Regions from separate parts of the Homo sapiens genome. Here regions 2, 3, 4, 5, 6 and 7 are each linked to region 1. The links are contacts of gene promoters, found by promoter capture Hi-C in blood cells and fetal thymus (Javierre and others, 2016). All regions are on one chromosome and are shown on one strand. Each heading gives the region's core, a stretch centred on a gene start or on the middle of the fragment in contact. The rest is flanking DNA. Distances are from core to core; before and after follow the strand shown.

Region 1 (3,946 bases), core at 1,302-3,801:
CCCTTGTGTTGTGGGAGGAACCCAGTGGGAGATAATTAAATCATAGGGGTGGTTTCCCCCATACTGTTCTCATGACAGTGAATAAGTCTCATGAGATCTGATGGTTTTATAAGGGGAAACCCCTTTCGCTTGGCTCTCACTCTTTTCTTGTCTGCCACGATGTGAGATGTGCCTTTCACCTTCCGCCATGATTGTGAGGTCTCCCCAACCACGTGGCACTGTAAGTCCATTAAACCTCTTGCTTTTGTAAATTGCCCAGTCTTGGCTATGTCTTTATCAGCAGCATGAAAAAGGACTAATACAAGCCATGAGCCACCACACCCAGCCTTCCTTATCTCTTTTGACTTCTGCAGCTTTTAGCAGAGTTGACCACTTTCTCCTTGAAATATTCTCTCATTTGACTTCCTGGACACTCGACTTTTTTTGATTCTTCTCCCTTTCTATACTTCTCGCCACCCTCTATCTGTCTCCCATACAAGCTCACCTTCAAGGCTTGGTTCTAGACCTCTCTTCTTCTTACCTTACAGTCTCTCCCCACAGATCTTGTCCTCATCCAGATATTCAGTTCATCCACTTGGGATTCTTTCCAACTTCTTCTCAAAATGTGATCTTGTCAGTTCCCTGCAATAAACTTGCCAATGGCATTTTAGGATAAAGACAAAGTAAAATAAAACATAGAAATGCCTTACCATGGCCTACAAGGCCTCTTTGGGCTCTGCCACCACCCTAATTCCCATTTCCCTCTCCTGCACCAGCTGCATTTGCTTCCTGTCAGTCCCTGGTGCTCTACTGGTTTCTACCATGTGGTCTTTGAAGACTGTGGGCCAGATTCCATGCCCAAAATGCTCCAACTTTTAGGCCTAAGTGTCACTTTCTCAAGGAAACTTTTCTAACCTTCACGAATACATGAAGCCTCCTGTCCCCATTACATGATTTCATGGCACCATGGACTTTTACACTTGCGCACAAGTGGTACAACAGCTGCAGCTGTTCACGTGTTGTTTCTGTCTCAACACTACATGGACAGACTGGTCACCACAGTGTTCCAATGAACTGCTTCCCTATCCTTCACCCAGCTGCCTTCACTGCCTCTAGGAGGCATTCCTGGGCAGGTGGCCTTCTGTGTGCTCTTCCACAGCACCCTGCTCCGGACGCTACTGCAGCACTTATTATGCTCTTACAAGTTCTTCATTCTTCCAACCAGTAGGAATTTTGTTGCTGTTTGTTTGAAGTTCAAGCTGTGTATCAGGCATACTAGGCACAGATCTGCTAAAACAACACTTCTTCACACCTCTGTTTGGATCACAGATCAACTCAGAACCTGAGAGTCACAGACTCTCTTTCCAGAAGAAAAGACCCACGCTCACAACATTTCGCAAATGATTTTAGCAGGATTCATGGACACCCTGCAGCCCGGCCATGAATGACCTGCACTAGATTTACAAGCGTTGGGAAGGCAGGAACTGAACGGTGTTCTGCTTTATTCCCTGCACCCAGCAAAGAACTTGTTCCACAGAGAGACAAAATTAGTATTTGTCAGGTGAAACTGAGTGAACAAGTGGATGCGGTACATTAATGCAGTGGGTAAAACTGGGTTAGCAGAGCCAGACTGCCTGATTCCTGGACAACAGTTGTGTTGTGACTTGAAGAAGTTACTTCACCTCTCTGAGCCTCAGTTTGGCATCAGGAAAATGGTGATACTATCTCCTGGGTGACTGCAAAGATCAAACGAGTTAATACCATAAATCACTTAGAATATGCAGAAAACTCTTCACATATACTAAATCATTAAATCATCACAACAACTCATTTTAAAATGAGGAAACAGACGCAGGTAAAGGAACTTGCCCAAGGTTACTCAGCTAAAAAAAAAAACAAAAAACAAAAAACCGGCAGAATTTGGACTCAAACCCCACAGGTTGGCTCCAGAGTCCTGCCTGCTCTTAGCCCTGTGCCCCCACATATAGCAATGCTTTTGGTAAATGTTTGTTAAATCACAATGTGGGCTGTTCTAGGATGCTTGTTTCTTAAGCATTTTTGGGGAGTGAAATTCACTTCTGTAATACACAGTTATGGTTAGTATGGTCTTCTCTACACCACCACTGGTTTCAATAAAGTTCTTCTTTCGTAACACATATGCCCTGCTGCCAGTTTCAAATTGACCAACGTTTATAAGCAAGGAAAAACGAGGGTCCACGGAAGATCTCCAGGACCGATCAAAAGGCCGCACATTCACTGTGGGGCCTCCGCTTTTCCAGAGAAACCCGGCAGGCTGAGCTGAGCGTCTGGCGAGGCGTGGGGTTTTGCGGGCCCTGACCGCTGCGGCGCCGCTGGTGAGGAACACGCCCAGGAGCAGAGGAAGGGGGCGACTCACCCGTCGGCGTCAGCTCCAAGCAAGGCACAGGGAGTCCCGGGGGCCAGGCCCCGTCCTTCCCTCTCTCTCCGGCCAGCCTCCCCACAGTCCGCAGTCCCCGAGGCCTGGAGCCGGGATTTCGGTCCTCGGTCTCAAGAAGCTCCCGACAGTTCTCAGCAGCGCCAACCAGGCCATCAGTCCCTTCGCCCATGGCCAATCAGGGCTCGGGAGATGACCGCCAACCCCCGCCCCCCCAAGACACGCCCCCGCGTCCCAACGCAGCCAGTCAGAGCGCGGGACACAACTACGCGTCCCTCCCCGCACCACGAGGGCGAGTCGGAGTGGGAATCGGCTTTCCAGGCAGCCCAGCCTGTGCTGGCGGGGGCATCTGGCATTTTCACACCCTTTCCTTCCCAGCATTTTAGGAAGCGGAGTTCCAGTAGCTTTGACGCTTAGAAAATATAAGAAAAAAAAGAAGTAACAGAAACCGCTATATCTTTAAGATAGAGCCAATCACTGTTCCCAAAATAATTCAGTTAGGTAAAGAACCAACTTACAAAAGAAATGTTTAAAAAACCCCCAAAGTTCTTTGAAACACATCTGAACTCTTCCCCGCCCCCACCCTACCCCAGCAGTTAGCGACTGTCTTTAAAAGCCATTCTCCTTTCTCTCCCTCCTTGCCACCTTCACCTAAATACTCCCCTTTTCTGATAAACTGCCAAGTGGTTTCCATTCTAATTATTACCGGTGATGCCCAACCTCATACACTAAACACGTTAATTTCTCCTTAAAGCCAGGCTGAATGTCTCTCTCATTTATTTTCACATTTATCCATCCAAAAAACAAGTATTTATGGCAGGCCTGCTAAGTGCCAAGCATATTGAAACAGCAATGAGAAAATAGAGGGGGAATAAAACACATTCCCTGTCCTTATGGAGCTTACATTCTAGTGGAGGGCAGAGATATCAACAACTAATAACGTGACTAATCACACCTAGTTAAGTGTTATCGAGGACAGGGTGCCCTGAGCTGGGCCTGGTGATTCTGTTTGTGTGGAGTTGGAGTCAGGAAAACTGGTTTTCCCAGCTGGAGGTGTCTGCTGTCAGGTGTTCGTAGCACACTGTGCACAGTTCTGCCGTCGGTGGCACTGGCATACAGACTGCCCTCGCACCCTGTGGAGTGAATTCCTTGAGGCTACTGATTATTTTTTCTGTCAACAATGCTGGGCACACAGTAGGAACTCAGGAAATGTTAACTAAATCTTTGAGTCTAGTCTCACTATGCAGTTTAGGCTCAACAGGCTATATTGAGAGGAGCTCACACGTGCATTTAACTCCACTGAGTAGCAGCAAGAATCCTGGCTCCTCAAGATCACCCACCTCTGATCTCTAGGATATTCTAGAATGATCTGAGCAACTCATGTGTACAGCTGGGGGGTGTTTGTCCAGCAACTCCTGAGTTATCCGAATATAAAAACTCTATTATGCATAGATTTATTGCACACTTTTTCCTGAAATAAAATGATTTGGGGTCCAGACTAACCAAAGTGTGTCATTTGCACTTAGGAAAAGGAAATTAGGATACAGAAAAGGA
Region 2 (3,756 bases), core at 1,008-3,507, 770 kb after region 1:
CAACCTGAGCTTTCCTGGCTCAAGTGGCCATCCCTTCTCAGCCTCCTATGTAGCTCCTACGTAGCTGGGACTACGGGTGTGTGCCACCATGCGCTGCTAATTTTTTTTTTTTTCTTTGTAGAGATGGGGTCTCCTTATGTTACCTAGGCTGATCTTGAACTCCTGGGCTCAAGTGATCCTCCTGCCTTGGCCTCTCAAAATGCTGGGATTATAGGCGTGAGCCACTGTGCCTGGCTGGCAATATTTTTTAACAGGCTTTTCCACCTTAACAAGAGTGTCCACTAAAGGGAATGCCTACAAACAATCAAGTGGGTTAACCACTAATAATTTTTTAAGATTTCTTTTGTGGACACTTAAACAAATGTGAAGAGACCCTAGTTTCAATGAATCTTATTTAACTGCTGCATTTTATTAATTAAGCAAGTAATTCTCTTTAGAGAACTATTTAAACAATATATAGATTTATTTATACTAACTCCTACTGTGACAAAGAAAGTCCAATACATAACAATGTCATTGATCCTAAAGAACTGACAGCTTATCATTGTAATAATCAATAGAATATTTATTCCATTTATATTCTATTTCAATAGAATAAGAAAATGAAGCTAGGCAGAAAAAAGGTTTTAAAAGTACAGTGACGGCTGGCGCGGTGGCTCACACCTAAAATCCCAGCACTCTGGGAGGCCGAGGAGGGCGGATCACCTGAGGGCAGGAGTTCGAGACCAGCCTGGCTAATATGGTGAAACCCCGTTTCTACTAAAAATACAAAAAATTAGTTGAGCATGGTGGCGTGTGCCTGTAGTCTCAGCTACTCGGGATGCTGAGGCAGGAGAATTGCTTGAACCCGGGAGGCGGGCGGAGGTTGCAGTGAGCCGAGATCGTGCCATTGCACTCCACCTTGGTCGACAAGAGCGAAACTCCATCTCAAAAAAGAAAAAAAAGAAAATGAGCCAGGTGTAGGGGTGCATGCCTATAATCCTAGCTACTCAGGAGGCTGAAGCAGGAGAATCACTTGAACCCGGGAGGCGGAGGTTGCAGTGAGCCGAGATCGTGCCCCTGCACTCCAGCCTGGATGACAGAGTGAGACTCCATTTCAAAAAAAAAAGGATAGGAAGAATGAATTTTTCCTATACGATTTTGCTGTGTATGGAGGCTCATGAGGCGTTCCATGTAAAAGCCCCAGGTAAAAGTACCACACTTCTTTCCACATTAATTCTAGACCTGGTACACTTGCAGTTATTGCCATTTAATTTCAAACCTGGTGGAATATAAAGCCCAATTCCCCATGCTCTCTGGGAATAGTTATTAGAGTAATTTTAACTGATTCTCTTCTATTAACCCAGGGAACGGGTACTGAAGTGTGAACCAGATGAATGGGCAGCCCTAAATAAAATGCCAAGTTAATTACAGCTCTGGACAAAAAGCTACCAACTCAGAAGAGGACTATCAGAAAAAATTGCTGCTACTATCCACTAGAATTCTAATACTCTACCTCTACAAAAACCTTATTTTCCATTACCTATCACATGTTGAACCACCATTCAGGCCTGCTTACCTTCTCCCTTCTACCTTCTACCCTTAAAGGGGCTCTGATCTCTTCTAGACTCCATTTAGAATTGATAACAGAGTTAAGTGTTGAAATGCAGTAGGTCTCCCTTACCACTCACCTGGGGCAGGGATGGCACTGTGAGTGGGTGAGGCAGCCAATCCCAGGTGACTTCCTGAGACTGGCAAGGCATTGCTCACAGAGGATGAAGTCAGCTGCTCCATCCCCACTGGACTCAGGTTCATTTCATTCATCCTAGAAAAGAGCACACACAACTAGTTATGCAAAAATTTACTCCAATGACTCTGTATTAAGATACTGAAGAAACTGAAACAGTGGGGATGGGGAAATGGGACTTGGCCAACTATTAGTTCACTTTTACGCTCAACAATTCTCTTAGATAGCTAGTGCCATATTCTTTCTACTGATAAGAAAACTGAGATTGAGACATTAAAAACTCAATTCAATGTCACATAGCAGAAATAGGATTTGAATTCTGCCTTGTTCGAAACTCTAGGCACACCATCTAAAGCAAAGTCTGCAATTCTTAGAGCACAATGGCAATGACAGTTTTTTTTTAAATCACTCAAGCTTCATCTTTTATAATATTTATTTTTCTCCAAATGGCTTATTATTTCAAACCAGTAGTGTTTTAGGCAGCGCATTTTAACCTACTCAAGTAAATTTTACTAATCATTTTTAATAGGAGTTAAAGATCCAGATTATCGATGATGTGAAAAGCATCGTATTTTCCCCATTCAGCAACAGTTTACTAAGATTCTGTATCAGTATATTAATGTCCTCCAAATATTGAGGGTCATTATGTAAGCTTTGCTACCACTTCACTTAAAATGACTTCAAATCCTCACACCAATACTGCAACGTAAGATAGATGAGGGAACTATGGCTCAGAGAGGCCATGTCATATGCCCCAAATCACATAGCTATTAAGTGAAAGATCACAGATCAAACTGCAAAACACTGCCAAAAAGTTTTTCATTGCACCAAACTTTTTTTTAACTGCACCAAACTTTTTTTTTAACTACAGACTATTTTTGGCAAGGTGAAGAACCTAGGAATCACCTTTTCTATGCAAACCATCTTGCACTGCCATTACAAATGTCTTTCGAATAAGAGTAATACTGATTTGAATAAAACAGCACTGAAGGTTGTTATCAAAAAGTATTAGTTCTTATATCATAATTTAGAGACTGCCATACTATAAACATTACAGAACCACTAGGCTAGCCAACAGGTTACCCAAAAGGGGCTCTCTAATGACCTCCAGTCCTTACACTGGGCTTTATTCTCTGCGTATGGGAGGGGGTGAAGCAGAGAAGAGGAATCAAATGAGGTTACATATTCCTTAGCAGTGAAATCAAATCTAAATAGGTTTTTAATTCTGAAAAATGGCAATGCCATTTTATCAATCAACCTGAAAATAATAATAGCTAAAATTTATGGCTCCCTTACCATGTGCTATGTATTGGGCTAAGTGATTTATATGTAACTATCTCTCTTAATCTTCTTTTTTTTTTTTTTTTTTTTTTTGTTTTTGAGACAGGGTCTTGCTCAGTAGCTGCAAGCTGGAGTGCAGTGGCGTGATCACAGCTGACTGCTGCCTCTACCTCCTAGGCTCATGAGATCTTCCCACCTCAGCCCCCAAGCAGCTGGGACCACAGGCAAGTGCCACCATGCCTGGCTAATTTGTTTTTATTTTGCAGAGATGGGGTCTCCCTATGTTGCCCAGGCTGGAGGTAGGTATTATTCTTAATCCCACTTTAAAGATGAGGAAACTTAAGATTCAATGATGCTAGGAAACTTAACCCAGAATCACATAACCAGTAAGGAGAGCTGGGATTTAAATTCAGAACTAATTTAAGAAACCAAAGCTCTTAACTATAGTAAGAAAAAGACAATTACAATAAAAGAACTATATTGCCTTTTACACAGTTGCAATACATTAGGGCCTATCTACTTATATTGTGGCGTATATTTAAAGTTCCACATAGACCTGTTTCTTGCATTATTAGGTTTCACCCTTATCCCTGGCCATGGATCCCATAAAACTAAGCTCTAAGACATCAATAAAATGTAAAAGGCCAACCTAGTACCTTGTATAGAACAGACATTCTGAATTTTCTTATTTTATCGGATGGAGCTATGCAAACTCATCACCCTTACCAGAAAGACAGCTAGAAGCACCT
Region 3 (4,131 bases), core at 1,276-3,775, 690 kb before region 1:
TTAGAAGTGTGTCTGTAACGTCCTCTTACCAATCAGTATATACAGCACTGAGAAACTACTATGTCACAGGCACCGTGCAAAATAACATAGATTAATTTAAAGATGGATATAGGCCCAGCACCGTGGCTCACACCTGTAATCCCAGCACTTTGGGAGGCCAAGGTGGGAGGATCACCTGAGGTCGGGAGTTCGAGACCAGCCTGGCCAATATAGTGAAACCCCATCTGTACTAAAAATACAAAAAATTAGCCAGGTGTGGTTGTGGGCACCTGTAATCGCAGCTACTCTGGAGGCTGAGGCAGGAGAATTGCTTGAACCCGGGAAGTGGAGGTTGCAGTGAGCCGAGATCGTGCCACTGCACTCTAGCCTGGGCACAACAGAGCAAGACTCCGTCTCAAATTAAAAAAATAAATAAATAAAAAATAAAGAAACAAAGATGGATATAAAGAGTTATTGTCTGAAAAAGGTTTTGGGGCAAACACGAGCAAGCATTGCTCACTGCAGGCTCCAATGCACAGGCAGAAGTATCTCCTATTCTCGTCACCCATGACCAAGAGGTGTATTTGGGTTAGGGCATAGCTGCATGTGCCTCAGATCTGTACTCCAGAAGAGGAACTCCCATACCTGTATTTTCCCCTTTTATGGAGCAAGTATGAGAACGACTTTGCCCAAAAGAGACATCGTGGTCTCAGCCATCAGGTAGTCTGAGAATAAGAGGCAGCTATTGAGGGGAGTGTTGGTAAACACTACCTGCCCAGCATCTGGAGACTTTAGGTGCTCAGGAGAAGTTTAATTTTTGCACAACCCCTCCTGCTAAAAGGAAAAAAAAAAAACCCTGAAACCCTTGTTAGTCCAAAGTCAGGCAATTAATTTGAGCCTCTGAGTTCAGCCTTCAGACAGTTAAATTGCTTGTATTCATGAGTAGAAGACATTCCTTGTGCCCAAGGAACAGTCTGAAGTGAGTGACTTTCATGTCCTCCAATAATTACAGGATATGTGTGATACATGCTGTACATTTAAAAGATTTCCTGAAGTCTGCTTTTTTGCATCTAGTCATGCATAGCAGATTTCATGGGTGAAAACAATGCTTGGGGCCCTACTTTTCTTCATGGAGATGGCAAAAATGCTTAAAGAGCTAGGTGAACCATGTAAATGAATGAAGTAGGCTACATATAAGAGGGGTGGGCTTGTGGCATTCAAATTCAAAGTCCACCTGTGGGCTGAAAGCCACTCATTGCAATGCCCTCTACATCAAGCTTATGGTTCAGCTTTGGACTCCTGAAGAAATGGCGCAGAACCATCTATGTAGATTTAGAAAGTGAATTGAGTTCCTCACCTCATTTGGCAAGAATGGTGAATTTCCCACAGTTCGCAGGTACCTGTGGTTCCAAAGTGAGCTGCCGTTTTTGAAAATTATAAAAGCAACACTGAAGCAGTTTAAACCAATCCAGATTTTTAGCTAAGTAGTTCCAATTTTCTTCCTTATCAGTTAAGCTCATATCAGCCTTATTTTTCAACAATGAATTTGACCTAAATACTGATTTAGGGGCCTGAATCTGTTTTGTTGAGATCACTTGAGAACTTCTTGTACATGTATCTGCTTGGCTACTCCTTTCTCTAGGAAGCCTACCTGGGGGTCGTCAGTTCTGGATTACATGCTCCTTCTATGTGGCCCCTTGGATTGACTTCTATTTGTCAAGGTATAATTTTCAACAAATTGAAAACATGACTTATATGAAACAGAACAAACACGGGCTTAAAAAAATATTTATTTCATCAATTAAAGAGTTAGCCAGTAAAATGGTAAAGTTGGTTTAAGGAATATTTGAGAAATAGGGGTTTATATATCCCATCAAGAAATGCATTTTTAAAAATCTTACAATAAGATTACTAGGTTAGACACAAAATTGGTTAATGTCTTATAAGGTAATAAATAGTAAGCTTTTATCTTTTCTATAGAACAGAAAAGATTTTACTTGTATTAGAAATGGACAAGAATAATTTGCATTGTTATCAATTTTTTGGTGTTTTGTTTTGGGTTTTGGTTTTCGGTTTTTTGACATAGGGTCTCTGTCACCCAGGCTAAACTGAGGTGCCATGATGATAGCTCACTGTAGCCTCGAACTCCTGGGCTCAAGGGACTCTCCCACTTTAGCTTCCTGATTAGCTGGGACTACAGCCACATGCCACCCTGCCCAGCTAAGTTTTGTATTTTTTTTGTAGATACAGGATCTCTCTATGTCGCCCAGGCTGGTCGCCAACTCCTAGCCTCAAGCAACCTGTCCATCTTGGCCTCCCAAAGTGTTGGGATGACAGGCGTGAGCCACTACACTGGGCCCTTGTTATCAGTTTTTGATAAAGTAACATCTGCCTTTACAAAGTTCTGGAATATCTGAACCAATAACGAGTAGTAAGTCCAACAAAGGTACACAGTCCTAGATAATGCATGAATCCTTGTACGAGTCTGCTACTACACTGCACTACACAGCACCCTACTAAAAGGACATCCAGTAATCCCTTTTGCCTATTTCCAAGTCTTTGGATAACGTTTGGATAATTATCCAAGTTTTTGGATCATTGTTCTTAACACAATATAAAGTTATATTATTTTCCTGAATGGATCTGACTTACTGGCCTAATGAGTGGAGAATAGTAATCCTCACATTGATATATAAATACTGGGTGATGTGTTAGGCTCATTTGTGAGGTAAATAAATGGCTCCTGTACCACCAACTTATTAGATTCAAATTTGCTCCTTGGCAGAATTTTAAATTATCGCATGTCACAGACCTTTAAGTTGCCCAGGACCTGTCGAAACTGTAAATATTAAATCATTAAAATAACAAGAGTATAATAATAGTAGTTACAGTTTACTGATCCATACAATGTCGCTGGCACTCTGCTCAACTCTTCATATACATTATTTCTTTTAATTCTCCCACAGGTTATGGAGTATTTGTTCTAGTCAAAGTTCTTAGTGGCAAATAATACACCTTAGTCTGACTAGACCAGAAGGGTCTTCGTAGCTCATGGAACTGAGACCAGAGGGTCTTGGTAGCTCATGGAATTAGCTATCGAGTGACTCTAACATATTTTAGACTGAAGAACCAAGCTTGGGAAAGAACTAAAGGAAGCCAGGCATAGCTAAGAACATGCTAAGGATGCCATAGCTGGTGTCATCAGCATTGGGCACCACCACTGTAGCTCTGTGAATCACCCCTATCTACCTGTGGTGGTCAGCATCTGACAGAACATGCGTAGGTCCCATGCCCATGCTACAGCCACCAGGGTCTGGGAAGACAGAATGCCTTTCCAGCTCCAGTAGTAAAGTATTAATGGGATTAGCATATCATCCCCTCTCTGGCTTCTATAATAAATGATAACAATTCAAATACCATTCGGAAAGCTGGATCACCAAAATGACAAATGGCCCCCACAACATTATTATCCCCATTTTATACCTGTGAGGATAAGGACATATGTATAATGAGTGGTGGAACTTGGCTGTCAACCCTCTGGTCTGTCTGAACCCAAAGCCCACCCTCTTTCCACCATACCACATTTCCTCATTATATACAATTATTTTGTACCTCAGTTGATTAATTCTTTGAAAATTTTGATCTACGTAATGCTTGTAACTTTTAAAAAGTCATTTTTTTAAACGTCCACATATCATCACAGAGGTCTTCCTTTAAATAAAGAATTCAGCTTCAGCATTAAAATTAAATTTATTTGTATAATTATGTTACACCGAGCATTTTTTTTTTTTTAGACTGAGTTTCACTCTGCCACCCAGGCAAAAGTGTAGTGGCGTGATCTTGGCTCACTGCAGCCTCTGCCTCCTGGGTTCAAGTGATTCTCCTGCCTCAGCCTCCCAAATAGCTGGGACTACAGGAGTGCGCCACCACGCCCAGCTAATTTTTTGTATTTTTAATAGAGACGGGGTTTCACCATGCTGACCAGGCTGGTCTTGAACTCCTGACCTCAGTTGATCCGCCCACCTCGGCCTCCCAAAATGCTGGGATTACAGGAATGAGCCACTGCGCCCAGCCTATACTGAGCTTTGTGGGAATTTACTGATAATATACATGCAGATGTACATGTAACATAAACAATGGCATGGCTTGGGA
Region 4 (3,817 bases), core at 352-2,851, 670 kb before region 1:
TGGGCCTATATTAATAAGTTGGTCTCATAAATATTTGAGACAATGTTATCAAATATGGTAACTGAAGCTATTGAAGGAGTTCTTAAATTTTTGAAGCCTTTATTAACTGAGGGAATTCACCTATTTTAATATATAGTCTCCTGACCTATAAAACTCTGAAGTATATACATTCTGATAAATTAAACCTTATCTGCATCAGGAGGCTTCGTTGGATGACAACTTTTCTTCTGCAACATTAACTGGCTTTTGTTTTTCTTTCAGCAACAAGCCCTCCAAGGGTTGTAACATTTGATGAAGTGATGGCTACAGCAAGGAACTTATCAAACTTGACTCTTGCTCATGAGATTGCTGTAAATGAGAACTTTCAATTGAAACAAGAGGCTCTCCCAGAAAAGAGGTAACCTGGGGGCATTTGTTGTATATAAACTGCTGAAGATTCTGTGTGTGTGTGTGTGTGTGTGTGTGTGTGTGTGTGTGTGTGAGAGAGAGAGAGAGAGAGAGAGAGACAGAGAGAGAGATAGACACATATTTACACTGATTCCTGGAAGTTCTTGTATAATATCCTCAGGGGTAAACATTTAGTTCTCTAACAAGGTCTTATACTTGTTTTAAAAAAATTCTCGCTGGGTGTGATAGCTCACACCTGTAACCCCATCACTTTGGGAGGTGGAGGCGGGAGGATTCCTTGAAGCCAGGAGTTTGAGACTGGCCTGGGCAGCAAAGCAAGACCCCATCTCTGTAAAAAATAAAAATAAAAATATTATCCAGCATGGTGGCATGAGCCTGTAATTACAGGTACCGGGGAGGCTGAGTCAAGAAGATCATTTGAGCCCAGGAGTTCAGGGACTGCAGTGAGCTCTCATCATGCCACTACACTCCAGCCTGGGTGACAGAGCAAGACCCTGTCTCAAAAAAAAAAAAAAAAAATTCCTGTTTGTGACCAGCCCGGCCAACGTGGTGAAACCTCACCTCTACTAAAAACACAAAAATTAGCCGGCCATGGTGGTGGGGCGCGTGTAATCCCAGCTACTTGGGAGGCTGAGGCAGGAGAATTGCGTGAACCCAGGAGGTGGAGGTTTCAGTGAGCCGAGATCGCACCACTGCACTACAGCCTGCGCAACAGAGTACTCCGTCTCAAAAAACAAAAACAAAAACAAACAAACAAAAAAATTCCCCTAGGATACATATTACCCATAATCTTTAGAACTCAGTTTATATGTCACTTCCTGAGGGAAGCTTTTTCTGACATTGGTGAACCCCCTAGACTACAATTAATCCCTTTGCTACAGACACCTGTAGCCCTTGCTGCCTCCTTTTTGTTAAGAGGTCTTATAATTTTATGTTTGATGTCCATCTTCCCCACTTGATTGAAATGCACTATTTATGGAGGAGCTATGTCTGTATTGTTTGTTGCTGTATCCCTATTGTCTAGCATAGTGCCTGACATACAGTACAGGCTCAAGACATATTTGCACATTGATTTATGGAAAACTGATACTCAGGTTCTGAAGAATAAATAAATGCACCTGAACTGTCAAAGTGCTAAAAGCAGGCAATCCAGAAATGTCTGGAGGTAGGAATCACAGCTGCAAGAGGCACTTCCTGGTTAACCTCGCCCTCCGACCTCTAGTTGGAGCCACCCCTTTGGATCCTACTTCAGCCTTTCTGGAGTCAGTGGCTCACAGGTTTCCTGAGACAAAGAGAAGAGGCTTGAGACTATTATTACAGATCAGTCGTCTTTAGAAGCAAAGTTGGTTCGTGGATTGAATTTTCAACCTTACAGTACCAATTATAAATCCTGAGGCATTCTATCAGTTAAGACAACTTAGAATATTTGATCCCATTCAGAACTTTTTCATTTGTTTTAAAGCAGGAAAAGTAAAGGAAGTCAATGTAATAACTCTTCTTCTTTAAAATGTGGATCATAGTCCTCTTGGGGATGTTGTTCATTTAATATTAACATTTTTTAAGCTTGCCATGTATCGTGGGTGTATCTGTTTGGTTTCCTTTGGTAACTTGCATTTTGCCATGACCCTTGATACCAGCTCTACTGCTACAGCCCTAGGCTAGGCCACCGTCATCTGTGGCCTGGACCCTTTCAGTCCTAACTGGTTGCCGTGTCTCCTTTCTTAGCCCCCAACAGTTCATCTTCCATATCCAGTAGCCTTAATGATGTTTTTAAAGAATGAGCTATATTAGATGATTTCTTTGCCAAAAACTCTTCAATGGTTTTCACTTACTCAGAGACCAAAAATCTAAGCATTTTCCTATGGCCTGGATGGCCCCACTCCCCTGACCCCATCTCAGTGCTGTCCCTCCTGCTTGCTGTGCTTCAGCCACACTGGCTTCCTTCCTTACCTCAGGGTTCACCAATCTGGATCTTGTCTCATAAACTTTGTTCCTCTGACTTCTTCTTTTTGAATGTTCTTTTCCCAGACCTTCACATGGCTCTTTGCTCTCCCCTTCTGAGTCTGAACACAAAGGTCACTGACTTAAAGAGGCTTTTTCCCACCATCCAGTGAAATCAGCACCCTCTCTGTAACTGTGTACCACATTGTCTTATTCTTTCTCATAGGTCTGAAATTGTCGTATTCATTTTTAATGTATTTTTTGCCTTTTTGTCCCTGCTAACATATAAGCTTTTTGAGGTCAGAGACTTTCTTTTCACTGTAGTATTCCCAGTTCCTAAAACAGGGCCCTACACATATTGGATGTTTAATAAACATTTATTGACTAATACAAATGAATTTTTTGAGATGGAGTCTTGTTTTAAAGTTAAAATTTGTATTTTTTATGAGGTAAAGCAAAAGACAGGGCATATCTGTACTTTAAATTCAAAAGTGGCGAGTACAGGCCATAGTGAAGGCATTTTAGGCTCAGACAGACTGTGGGGTTTGAATCCTGGCTTTGCTGAGACCATACCTGAACCTCACACTTCCCAAGAATAAGAAGGGGGCTACACTACTCACTTCAAATGCATACTCACTAGCATAAAAGTGCCTTGCACATAAATACTTTGATACTATGGAAAATATTAATCTCTCTTCCCTTCAGTTTCTGCCATGGCTAGAAAATGTGAGCAAGGGAAACAAAGTACAGAGTTAGGACACATTGCCTTTGTTTAAAGATAAAGTCTTAGCCGGGCGCAGTGGCTCACACCTGTAATCCCAGCACTTTGGGAGGCTGAGGTGAGCAGATCACCTGAGGTCAGGAGTTTAAGACCAGCCTGCCCGACGTGGTGAAACCCTGTCTCTACTAAAAGTACAAAAATTAGCTGGGTGTGGCAGTGCATGCCTGTAATCCCAGCTACTTGGGAGGCTGAGGCATGAGAATCACTTGAACCTGGGAGGCGGAGGCCGCAGTAAGCTGAGACTGCGCCACTGCACTGCAGCCTGGGCGACAGAGTGAGACTCTGTCTCAGAAAAAAAGAGATATACTTATCAAATTATGAATTCATTCACCATGCATGCATTTGTTAAGCAGTCACTATATATCAGGCACTGTACTAGGCACAATGGTAAGTACCTACCTGGAGGACTTATGGCCTCTGCTTAGGAAAGGTATATAGCTCTGTGGGGAAAGAGCCTCGTCAGTAATTACAGTGGAGGGACATGTGGTTTTCTAAAAACTATTGCTAAATGGTAGAGAAGTTAGGTAGGAATGTGTATTTTAACGTGCACCTATTTTAAGGGATTGACATAAGGGGTGAAGCAAGGTGGCCAATTATTCTATTGTGAGCTCTTCCTAGGAAGGCTTCTATTTCACCAGTTTGGTCTGGCTAACTTTAAATGGGACACCTAAGTCTGAAGTTGGCAGG
Region 5 (3,794 bases), core at 1,095-3,594, 760 kb before region 1:
CACTCCTCCAACAAGGGCAGGAGTGAGCTATAATGTCATGTTGGATTCCAGTCGACTTGGGGTGGTTTGACAGGCTGCCCAACCTGAGCATGTGACCCCAGGGGAGCTGTTTTAAGGCTTTTTTTTCCTCCTGCTGGATTCACTTAGACAGATTTTAGCCCCCAACAAAAGAAACTTTCCAGCCACACCCACCTCCTCCCCCAGCCCTTGCTTCTGGTTTCTTCCTTCTATAACCCACTTGGAATTCTTGGCTGATTCATTCCAGTTCTCTCCTGATGGGATTGCAGAATGTCAGAGCTAGAAGGGGCCATCAGGAAAAATTGGGCCAAGCTTCTTAACGGCAGGTCCCAGCTACTTCCATGCAGTCTGGCCTAGAACCTTCATCGGCTGCAGCTGCTCCCTCCCGGGCCGCTGCACTACAGTGCCCTCTTCTGGTAGTGGATGGCAATTGCCTCTGAGTGGCACCTGATTTTCAGGACTGTCCTGTGGCTCTGACATCTCCTCAGCATAGACTTTCTCTGCAGAGGGGCTCTAGGGGTTGAGTGTGTGGGCTGCCTCTCTGCAGATTTTACTCCCTCTCTCCTGTGCCCCTCCTTACCTCAGCAAGCCCCGGTTCCTTCCCGTGAAGGCTAGGAGGAAAGTAGCCATCTGCAGAAGAATCTGGGGAGGGACTGCCATGGTGGGCTTTAGTTCTTGGCTAGAAGAGCCTCTGTTCTCGGCAGGAGAAGCCAAATTGCACAAGAAAACCCAAAGATCTTCTTTGATGTACAAAGCCATGAAGTCACAGCCCTTAAAAGAGGTCGACAAAGAGCCCAAAGTTTCCATCAGGTTGACAATGTCCATGTAATTCATCTCACTCACTGCAAGGATCAAAACACCAAATGCTTCCAGGAGCCAGACAGGAGGCCTAAATGAATGGAGAAGCAGACACAAGTGAGTGGTGGGAAATGTGAGAATCTAGAGGCCACAGGCCCACCTGAAGACCTCACAATCAAACACAGGCCCACCTGAAGGCACTCACAATCAAACACAGGCCCACCTGAAGGCACTCACAATCAAACACAGGCCCACCTGAAGGCACTCACAATCAAACACAGGCCCACCTGAAGGCACTCACAATCAAACACAGGCCCACTTGAAGGCACTCACAATCAAACACAGGCCCACCTGAAGGCACTCATAATCAAAATTCCAAACTCAACGGGGCACAGTGGCTCATGCCTGTAATCCCAACACTTCAGCAGGCCGAGGTGCAAGGATTACTTGATCTGAGGAGTTTGATACCAGCCTAGGCAACATAGTGAGACCCCTGTCTCTATGAAAAGATCAAAACACGAGCCAGGTGTAGCGGTGTGCACCTGTGGTTCCAGCTACAAGAGAGGATTAAGCGGGAGGATCGCTTGAGCCCGGAGGGTCAAGGCTGCAAGTGAGCTATGATCATGCCACTGCACTCCAGCCTGGGCAATGGAGTAAGACCCTGTCAAAAAAAAAATTCTAAACTCACATTTTGCAGGCCAACAATAGAAGGGCTCATTTCACAAGCCTGGCATTTCAAATTCCCTGCATTTAGTCAATTTCTAAGTACTATTTATTGAGCACTTCACTGTCATGGCCACTGTTCTAAGCACCTCAGATGGAGTAAGCCTCACAACAACCCTATGAAGTAGGCACTATCATTAGCATCATTTGCATTTATAGGTGGGGAGACTGAGGCACGGAGCACTTAAGTAACTGTCCCGATGTCAGACAGATAGAATATGCCATGGCTGGGAACTCAAATAGTAAGGCTCAAAAACTCAACTTATCCAATTTCTTATCTTTTTTTTTTTTTTTTTTTTTGAGACAGGGTCTCACTTGGGCTAGAGGGCAGTGCTGCCGTCATGGGTCACTGCAGCCTTGACTTCCCAGGCTCAAGCAATCCTCCCACCTCAGCCTCCTGAATAGCTGGGTCTACAGACATGCATCACCACACCCGGCTAATTTTTATATTTTTTGTAGACATGGGGTTTTCCGCCATGTTGCCCAGGCTGGTCTCGAACTCCTGGGCTCAAGCAATCTGCCTGCCTTGTCCTCCCAAAGTGCTGGGATTACAGGCACAAGCCACTGCACCTGGCCAGAACCCAGTGTCTTAACCACCAGTACTATACACACAGTACAAGTACATAGTTGTATCCTGGGACATTATGGGAAGCTGATTTTATTACTATGGGAAAGGGAGTATGGTTTAACAGACAAAAAGCAGGCCTTATTAGAGACAAACAGAGTCCGAGTCCTGCTGCTACCACAGACTGCGTGCTCCCAGAGCAAATTAATGACCATTTCTTAGTGTCTGATCAGTAAATCAGAGACAACCACTTTTACTCCCTGGGATAATCGTCAGGGTAAGCGAGATGATAAATGTGTTCCACCTAAAGCATGACATCAAACACAAAACACAATTATGGGTGACTATTACTTAAGTGAAGGACTAAGCATCCAACATTTGACTTGCCTTATTTAAAGGGCGCCACTTGCACTTTTTTTTTTTTTTGTCCTTTTTGAAACAGAGTCTCACTCTGTTGCCCAGGCCGGAGTGCAGTGCTGTGATCTCAGCTCACAGCAACCTCCGCCTCCCAGGTTCAAGCGATTCTCCTGCCTCAGCCTCCCGAGTAGCTGGGATGACAGGCACGTGCCACCACGCCCAGCTAATTTTTTGTGTTTTTAGTAGAGATGGGGTTTCACCGTGTTAGCCAGGATGGTCTCGATCTCCGGACCTCGTGATCCGCCCACCTTGACCTCCCAAAGTGCTAGGATTACAGGCGTGAGCCACTGCGCACTTCTTAACTAGCTTGACATAGGAACGATAAAGGTCTTTCGGTATCTAAACTTCTACTAACAAAAGATTCATATTAAACAAAACCCTTTATTACCTAAGTTTTCAAAAGGGGCTAATTAGTAGGATAGTATACACATTACAAAAGCATTCATGTCACAGAGAAATACACACATAGGTCTTTTAAATAGTGGATTTCTCTGGTATTTTTAATGGTACAATTGGATTTTATCCCCTTTCTGGAACAAGAGCGAAAAATGAAGAAATCATTCCTGTGATCCCTGACTCTGACACTAGATGGCAATAAATTCTCACTTCAATTATGTTCTCTGGGTTCCTACTGCCACAGTCAGCTGATTTGGGGCTATTCCCCAGCTGAAAGTTCAGGGGCTTGAGCCGCTCTGGATTTTTTACTGGTGCATCCCGGCATCTTCTGAAAGTGAATAGTCTTCACATGAGGTTATCCAAGATGTCAGCCCGGCCCGGCCAACATTCCCCATTTCACCCCAATAAATGAGAAAACATTAATTGTGACCCAGTGTGTGCCGGCCCCCATGGGAGCTACAAACAGACCCTTGGTTAAGACAGAAGCCACCCTGGCCCCTAGAGATCTGCTCACTGTCTAGTCCTTTTTCCCTTAGGCCTCCTCCTGCCCACCCGAGGCTCCAAAAGACTCTTGTGCAATGGTTAAAGTCAAGGAAAGTTGGATCTGGAAGAGAACATGAAGATTACTTTATCTCCCCTCACTTTTCAGATGGGAAAACAGATGGAGGCCCAGAGAAGGAAAGTGAATTATCCTAGGCAGCACAGCCCGGCAGGCCAGCATTCGGACCAGAGTCCTGATTCCAGGTGACTTCCCCCATCCCTGCTGTTCTTGTCACACCATGTGAGAACTCCGTCCTGGAGTGCAAACCAAGATCATACCCGTGAATGGAAGAAAACAAAAAGACCTAGCCTTCTGAGTTTCCATGAAGGACTCTGT
Region 6 (3,880 bases), core at 1,071-3,570, 610 kb before region 1:
TCGCCATGTTGCCCCCGCTGGTCTCGAACTCCTGGGCTCAAGTCATCCACCCGCCTTGGCCTCCCAAAGCATTGAGAATTGCAGGCATGAGCCACCATTTGTGGCATGTTTTTTTTTTTTTTGAGATGGAGTCTCGCTCTGTTGCCCAGGCTGGAGTGCAGTGGTGTGATCTTGGCTCACTGCAACCTCCGCCTCCCAGGTACAAGTGATTCTCCTGCCCCAGCCTCCTGAGTAGCTGGGACTATAGGCGCACGCCACCACGCCCAGCCAATATTTTTTGTATTTTTAGTAGAGATGGGGTTTCACCACGTTGACCAGGATGGTCTCGATCCCTTGACCTTGTGATCCACTTGCCTTGGCCTCCTATAGTGCTGGGATTACAGGCGTGAGCCACCGCACCTGGCCTCCTTGGCATGTTTTTTTCACCTATAAATTAGAAATTGTTATTGTCTTATGAAGTTCGCATTTGTTTATATCCACACACATTAGTTTCCATTTTCTTTGCTCACCATACATTTTTACACGTCAGACTTTTGGTTAGTGTTTATTTTCCGTCTTCCTGAAGATGAATTTTTTTTAGAAATTTATTTAGTGAGGGCCTATTAGTACATTAGTAACTTCTCTCAGTTTTTGTCTGAAAATATCTTTATGTTGACCTCATTCTGAGTGAATACGTAGCAGAATACACAAATCGAGGTTGGCAGTTATTTTCTCTTCAAGCACATTGGTTGTGTGCTTGACACACACTTCGAGCACACTGCTCTGTGTCATTGGTTGTTGTGAAGTTATTGTGCATCCAGTCATCCTTCCCTTTTTGGTAGCCTCTCTTTTTTTCTGGCTGGGTTTTAAACCTTATCTCTAATTTTGGTGTTTAGTATCTTGACTGTGATCTGCTTAGGTGTAGCTTTCTTTTTATCTTGTGCAGATGTTACCGTGAGGATTTATGGCTTTCATATGTCTTTAAAAATTTATGGCTCTTATCTCTTTGAATAGGACTTCTCACCTATTCTGTGTATTTTCGCCATCTAGAAGTCTGATTAGGTGTTGATTAGTCGCTCTCTCTCTATCCTTCCCTGACTCTTAAACTCTCTTTCATATCTTCCATCTCTACGTCTTTCTGAAATTCATTCTCAGTAATTTCTTCAGATGTCTTTTCCAGCCCAGTAATTATATCTTCAGCAGTATCAAAGCTATTATTATCCAACCTATTTCTACATTTTTAAGTTAGTGCTTAAAATTTCCATTTCTAGTACATTTTGCTCAGTTCTTTTTCCAGACTGCCTGGTTAGTTTTCATAGCCTCTTGTTCCTTACACTTGGATGCATTGTGCTATTGCCAAGTAACTGATGAGAATCACTTTGTCTTCCATGAAGGAAGTGTTGCTGTCATTTCTGACTCTCACTAAAGCCTGTATGCAAAGTTTAAACCAAACATTTGAGTTTTTTGTTTTTTTGTTTTGTTTTTTGAGACAGAGCCTCACTCTGGAGTGCAGTGGTGTGATCCTGGCTCACGGCAGCTTCCACCTCCAAGTTCAAGCGATTCTCCTGTCTCAGCCTCCTGAGTAGCTGGGACTACCGGCACACACCACCACACCCAGTTAATTTTTTGTATTTTTAGTAGAGATGGAGTTCCACCATGTTGGCCAGGCTGCTCTCAAACTCCTGGCCTCATGTGATCCACCCACCTTGGCCTCCCAAAGTGCTGGGATTATAGGCATGAGCCACTGCACCCAGCCTGAGTTTTTATCATCTGTACTAGACGAGCAGCGTGCCTGAGAAAATACTTCATTTTGCTTGGCTTCCATGTAATTGCTATTTCTCTGCCTTTTCTAACATGGTGCATAGATAGACCCTTAGTGAGGTGGTGTGCACTGCATGTTTTGTATTTTTTGCAGCTTTTATCATTGACAGCCTACATGTGATATTTTCTTTTGTTTTATTTTATACAGAATGCCCATAATGCTACGTAGTTCAAACTGTGTTCTTACAGGAAAAACGCCAGCAGAATTTGCCAAACTGAACGAATGTCCCTTAGATCCAGGTATGTGTGAAGTCTTGGATTTGTCCCACTTTCCTTATTCTTTTATTCTGCTGCTGCTGTGGTTTTAACATTTTGTCTCAAAAACAGTACCAGCTTTTCTACTTTATAATGAACTTGTTCACAAAACACCCAGAAATTTGTCTCTAGCTTTATGCTACTAGTCTGTATTTCTTTCTTTCTTTTTTGAGATAGTGTCTCACTCTGTCATCTAAGCTGGAGTGCAGTGGTGTGATCTCAGCTCACTGCAACCTCTGCCTCCCAGGCTCAAGCAATCCTCCCACCTCAGCTTCCCAAATAGATGGGACTACAGGCTTGTGCCACCATACCCAGCTCATTTTTGTATTTTTAGTAGAGATGGTGTTTTGCTATGTCATCCTGGCTGATCTCCTGGACTCATCCACCTTGGCCTCCCAAAGTGCTGGGATTACAGGCGTGAACCACTGCGCCTAGCCCTATTAGTCTATATTTCTCAAAGACATACTGTTTCCTCTTTTATTTCAGGCTTAAGACTTTAATATGACACATTCTTGTTTATTGCCATGATTTGTCAGTCTTTTCTTTCTATCTTTGCCCACGAGTTTCTTTTGGTATGCCTAAAAATTCAAGAATAATCTTCCAGAGTTACTGGCCTTGCCTGGTTGAAAAAAATCAAGTATCACACTTCAGGGTGTTTTAAATGCAGTAAAGCAGTAGGGAGATGAAAGTATTTTTTTGTTTACATTTTTAAAAATTTTATTTTTGTACCTATTTCTAGGCAATTTCTTTTGTAAAATTTCAAACTTAGAACTTAACAAAAAGTTTCTCTTAGTTCTTTAACTCGTATTTCACATTGATTTATTTGAACTTATAGTTGCTTTAATCTTATTCCTGTAAAGTTGCATTGTTTTAGAATCCCAGAAGTTTTGGAAAGAAGTTAATGAAGAATGTGACTTTACTAGACTATAACAGAATGTTGCATAAGTCAAATATGTTGTATTGTTTTTGCTTATATTCTGCAGGTATAAAATGAAGTATTACTTTATCCTACTCTGAATTGTGTGCAAAAAAAATACATGATGATGCATGAGTTTTTTTGAATATGGAATATTATTTTGGAAACCTAATCTTAATCTACCATTACCACTGATTTGTTAGAAAACTTAGAGTAAATTTGAGCTTATATTGAAAATTGTCAGTTACACTTGTACTTAAGAGCTCTGACAACTAATTTATTTAACTATTTTTTTCATTCACTTTTTACATATGTCAGGGGCGGGTGATTCATAGACCAATAAGATACATTTCCTGTCCTCAAGAAATTTTTTATCTTGTAGCTCATTTGTATAAAATCACGTGCTGATCTTCAGTCCATAAAACAATATCAGATGGGCGCAATGGCTCTTGCCTGTAATCCCAGTGCACTGAGAGGCTGAGGCGGGAGGATGGCTTAAGACAGGGAGTCAGCCTGAGAAGCATAGTGAGACCCTGTTGTTACAAAAAATTTAAAAATTAGCTACGTGTGGTGGCACATGCCTCTAGTCCTAGCTACTCGGGAGACTGGGGCGGGCGAATCACTTGAGGTTAGCAGTCCGAGGTTGCAGTGAGCTATGATTGTGCCACTGCACTCCAGCCTCGGCGACAAAGGGAGATCCTTTCTCAAAAAATAAAATAAAATAAAATAAAAAATAAAATCAGCAACCCCTTTGAATCAAGTGTTAGCCAGTGCCATGAAGCAGTAGTAGAAAAGGTAATCTCTGATTCACAAGATTCCTGCCATTACTAAATCAACACTGGTTGAGGAATAAATGATGAAGTTTTTCTTGTTTCCTTTGGGTAGGTGGCTACTTCATTGTTAAAGGAG
Region 7 (3,821 bases), core at 785-3,284, 650 kb before region 1:
CCAAGGTGCAAATCTGGGAGTCATCCTAGAATACTCCTTTCCTATTCTCTACATGTAAGTGGTCACCAAGACCTGTGGGTACTCCCCCTAAATATTTCTCACTTTTTCCCTCTTTACCCCTCACTTCCACTGCCCTTATCCATTCACTCTCTTGTTTGAACCACTGCAATAATTTACTCTCCCTCCACTAATTCAGTCTTTCTTTCCAAGCAATTTTTCTGACATACATATCTGATCATACAGGTTCCATGTTGAAAATAATATTATTCAGCCGGGCGCAGTGGCTCACGCCTGTAATCCCAACACTTTTGGGGGCCAAGGTGGGTGGATCATGAGGTCAGGAGATTGAGACCATCCTGGCCAACATGGTGAAACCCCATCTCTACTAAAAATACAAAAATTATCTGGGTGTGGTGGTGCACGCCTGTAGTCCCAGCTACTCAGGAGGCTGAGGCAGGAGAATCGCTTGAACATGGGAGGTGGAGGTTGCAGTGAGCTGAGATTGCCCCACTGCACTCCAGCCTGGGTGACAGAGTGAGACCCCGTCTTAAAAAAAAAGAAAAGAAAGAAAATAATATTATTCAAAACTCCCCATTCCCATCGCTGGTGTTTGTAACCTGGGGACTGTCAATCTGGTAAGAGAGAATGACAATTGTTTGTGGACATGTGCACGTGATTGTGCACATTCACTTTGGGAAAGGCATATCTCCAATTAGTTATTAAAAGTGGTCCAAGACCCAAAAATGTGTAATAATTATACTCTATTTTCTCTTCAGATTGTATAAATCTTTCACCTTTTACCAAAAATGTGTGAAAATTAATGCCTTTTCTCTAAATACCTTCTCTGCACAAACTCAAGGCTGGCTTCTAACCACCCATCCAATGCCATTTGCTACAACCCTCTTACCCCTAGTTCTTTATGGACCAGCAATACAGATTTGTTTGTGGCATCCAGAATGTGACATCTAGAATGTGCCATATGCTGTCTTTTCCAGAGCACTTACAGAGCTCTTCCTCTTAGATTCTTTCCTGGACAGCCTCTTTCCCACAATTACTAGCATTCATTGTACTCTGTTATAATTGTTAGTTTACAGGTCTGCCTTTCCATCTGGACTGTAAACTCCTTGCAGGGCATGGCTGTGTCTTCTCATTCATGCCCAGCACCCAACACAGCATCTGTCAAGTGGAATACACCAGTGAAGGGATCAATCAGCTGTAGAACAAATATGTGGCCTTTTCACTCTTAGGTGCTCTTGATCAGACTACAGAATGGATAAAAGAATCTGTAAATGAAGAATTATTTTCTCTTTCTGAGAGTGCTTTAACTCCTGGGGCCGAAAATACCTCCAAGCCAAGCCTGAGCCCTACTTTGGTGCTAAATAATAGTTACTTGAAACTGTTACAGTGGGATTATCAGAAAAAAGAATTACCAGAGGTGAGTGGTTTTGTTCTTCACCCAAATTTCCCAGTATTTTTATTCTTAAGTTCTAACTTTGAATCATCTGGTCTGTGTTTCATGTGGTTTAATGACTTTACAAAAATCAGATAAAAATGGGAATTTGGAAATGACATTGCCTGTTTTGTATTTTCATGCTATTGAGCTACCCTTTCTATTTTTATATTTTAAATAAATATGTTAGACACTTATGACAGATGGAGCACGTCTTCAGGAACTAACAGAAAAGCTGAATCAATTGAAAATTATTGCCTGCCTGTCCCTAATTACCAACAACATGGTGGGTGCTATTACAGGAGGCCTGCCTGAGCTTGCAAGCAGGTTAACAAGGATTTCAGCTGTTCTACTTGAAGGCATGAACAAAGAGTAAGTTCCAAATTTTTGCATCTGCTCCCTCTTGTATTAAGGCTCTGCATGTGTCTCAGAGAACAAGAATGACCTTGGACATCTGGATGTGAGATTCAGGACTGTGCTTTAGAGAAGCTTATCTTACACCTTTTTCTAGAATTTCCTTTAATATCTCTGAAGGCTTAGATGTCCTCTCATAGGAAGGGAGAGGTGTTTTCCATGACAAGTGCCAGGGTGAGTGTAGTATTTCCACTTACAATGAATGTGTACAACAGCTTTTCTTTGACAGTGCTTTGGAAAAAAACAAATGAAACACAGAAATCTGCCAAGCTTGATGTTTAGAATTGCGCAATTTTTTTTTTTTTTTTTTTTTTTTGAGACAGAATCTCGCTCTGTCACCAGGCTGGAGTGCAGTGGCGCAATCTCAGCTCACTGCAACCTCCGCCTCCCGGGTTCAAGCAATTCTTCTGCCTCAGCCTCCCAAGTAGCTGGGACTACAGGCATGCGCCGCCACGCCCAGCTAATTTTTGTATTTTTAGTAGAGACCGGGTTTCACCATGTTGGCCAGGATGGTCTCGATCTCTTGACCTCATGACTCACCCATCTCGGCCTCCCTAGAATTGTGCTATTGAAGAGGGCTTTCCTCCAGTTGTTCTGACTTCATCATTTTTCTGCAGTGAAATGTTTACTGACTTCACAAATCCACCTTGCTACGAAGTCTTCAGAAGTGCTGACAATTCTGCCCTTCAGAGATGTGACACAGTCCAGTGAAGATTTTGGTTTTTGCTAAATTTATCTCCAGTATTACACCTTCATGAATGCTAGAATCCCATTTAGATTTTGCATTTACATCATCCAATAGGAATTCCTATCTAAGTCAGAAATTCTTAGTCTTGGTGAATGGCCAGATGGTTCTATGGGTCTCTTATGGATCAGCTTCTGCTGGTTCCCCTTTCAGGTGTCTTCAGAGGCATGTCCTCTTTATTCCTGTAATTGAAGGGAAATGCACCTGTCTTCTCATCCTCCCACCTATTATTCAGAGAGCATATAAATTACTTGATGAAATCCTAGACTATTAAGAGCCAAAAGGAGCCCATGTAGTTACAGAATCCAACTTCTCATTTTGAACTGAAGCTTACAGATAGAATAGAATTTGCCTTGGGCTGCAAACAGAAAAGGGCAGACCAAGGACTGAGCCCTGATCTGACCTTTCTCCTGATTCTGATGCTCATTAATATTCCAGGACCAAGACCTATAATGAAAGGAAACCTCTGATTTTGCAGTTGGTCTTATCTTATGATTTCCCTGCATGGGTAGTCATTACTTTCCAGAAACTTTTATTTATTAAGCCTTTAGGGAATACCCAGTGCTGCTGAAATGTTATTATAAAGTATACAGAAAGTGGTTACTAAGAAGACAGGCTTTCGGGTCAGATGGACCAGGGTTTAAATCCCAGCTCTGCTACTGACTTATTATGAACACTTGAATATGTTCTCAAATTACTATGAGCCTGACTTCCTCACTTGTAAGAAGGGAATAATAATTGTATTAATATCTACCTTGGAGTTGTGAGAACTTAAGATGATTCAGGTACAGATGTGTGGCACGTAATATGTACTCAATGAATGCTAGCTATTAATAACTAGTCATTAAATCATCCTCTTTATAATTGTATCTGGTTGTTTATCTGGTTGTTTCATTGTTTAAATTTTTTTCCTGTGTTAGGAAATCAATACAATCAATTCTCAATTATCCTCATTACGGATGGGGCAATAGCATTCATAGTATTAAAAAAAGGGATAGTACTAAATAATAGACCAAGATGTCATTTATATTGGGTTTGATGATGCATCTTGAAAACTAGAAGGAGTTTTTCCCTCTTCATTGTGAGTAGAAGGCATGGCTTATGCTAAGACAACTTTTTTTGAAGAGCTGAAAGAGGATTTATTGATTAATTGATTTTTGCTTTTTTTCCCTTTTTCAACTTTTATTTTAGGTGTAGGGGCACATGTACAGG

What was found. Contacts are between HindIII fragments. The CHiCAGO score rates a contact against its expected background, and 5 or more counts as called.
Region 2: a fragment that was not itself captured here is called in contact with the fragment with the promoter of MTERF2 in region 1 in 4 of 17 cell types (activated CD4 T cells, non-activated CD4 T cells, naive CD4 T cells and 1 more); the score reaches 6.9 in activated CD4 T cells.
Region 3: a fragment that was not itself captured here is called in contact with the fragment with the promoter of MTERF2 in region 1 in 7 of 17 cell types (fetal thymus, activated CD4 T cells, naive CD4 T cells and 4 more); the score reaches 8.0 in fetal thymus.
Region 4: a fragment that was not itself captured here is called in contact with the fragment with the promoter of MTERF2 in region 1 in 3 of 17 cell types (non-activated CD4 T cells, activated CD4 T cells and fetal thymus); the score reaches 7.4 in non-activated CD4 T cells.
Region 5: a fragment that was not itself captured here is called in contact with the fragment with the promoter of MTERF2 in region 1 in 2 of 17 cell types (naive CD8 T cells and total CD8 T cells); the score reaches 5.9 in naive CD8 T cells.
Region 6: a contact is called between a fragment that was not itself captured here and the fragment with the promoter of MTERF2 in region 1, in 11 of 17 cell types (naive CD8 T cells, total CD4 T cells, non-activated CD4 T cells and 8 more). The highest score is 11.5, in naive CD8 T cells.
Region 7: a contact is called between a fragment that was not itself captured here and the fragment with the promoter of MTERF2 in region 1, in 10 of 17 cell types (total CD4 T cells, total B cells, naive CD8 T cells and 7 more). The highest score is 9.6, in total CD4 T cells.

Annotation. Positions count from the first base shown.
Region 1 is chr12:106,984,595-106,988,540 of GRCh38, forward strand. It overlaps MTERF2 (mitochondrial transcription termination factor 2), which reads right to left and starts at 2,552. Exons shown (of 3, transcript NM_001033050.3): 1 at 2,375-2,552; 2 at 521-631. The HindIII fragment of the contact is 15,581 bases long and covers 1-3,946 here.
Region 2 is chr12:107,755,162-107,758,917 of GRCh38, forward strand. PRDM4 (PR/SET domain 4) reads right to left here. Exons shown (of 12, transcript NM_012406.4): 3 at 1,671-1,804. It overlaps PRDM4-AS1 (PRDM4 antisense RNA 1), which reads left to right. Exons shown (of 5, transcript NR_120474.1): 4 at 3,114-3,231. Among named protein-coding and RNA genes, the nearest start is that of PRDM4, 4.1 kb to the right of the region's middle. The HindIII fragment of the contact is 238 bases long and covers 2,139-2,376 here.
Region 3 is chr12:106,291,985-106,296,115 of GRCh38, forward strand. No RefSeq gene overlaps it. Among named protein-coding and RNA genes, the nearest start is that of TCP11L2, 8.7 kb to the right of the region's middle. The HindIII fragment of the contact is 1,172 bases long and covers 1,940-3,111 here.
Region 4 is chr12:106,314,097-106,317,913 of GRCh38, forward strand. TCP11L2 (t-complex 11 like 2) reads left to right here. Exons shown (of 10, transcript NM_152772.3): 3 at 262-397. Among named protein-coding and RNA genes, the nearest start is that of TCP11L2, 13 kb to the left of the region's middle. The HindIII fragment of the contact is 735 bases long and covers 1,235-1,969 here.
Region 5 is chr12:106,223,873-106,227,666 of GRCh38, forward strand. No RefSeq gene overlaps it. Among named protein-coding and RNA genes, the nearest start is that of CKAP4, 22 kb to the right of the region's middle. RefSeq lists an enhancer at 305-354 and a silencer at 405-514. The HindIII fragment of the contact is 4,033 bases long and covers 329-3,794 here.
Region 6 is chr12:106,374,411-106,378,290 of GRCh38, forward strand. It overlaps POLR3B (RNA polymerase III subunit B), which reads left to right. Exons shown (of 28, transcript NM_018082.6): 7 at 1,949-2,040; 8 at 3,857-3,880. Among named protein-coding and RNA genes, the nearest start is that of POLR3B, 19 kb to the left of the region's middle. The HindIII fragment of the contact is 5,172 bases long and covers 1-3,880 here.
Region 7 is chr12:106,334,392-106,338,212 of GRCh38, forward strand. It overlaps TCP11L2 (t-complex 11 like 2), which reads left to right. Exons shown (of 10, transcript NM_152772.3): 7 at 1,248-1,435; 8 at 1,641-1,822. Among named protein-coding and RNA genes, the nearest start is that of POLR3B, 21 kb to the right of the region's middle. The HindIII fragment of the contact is 195 bases long and covers 1,938-2,132 here.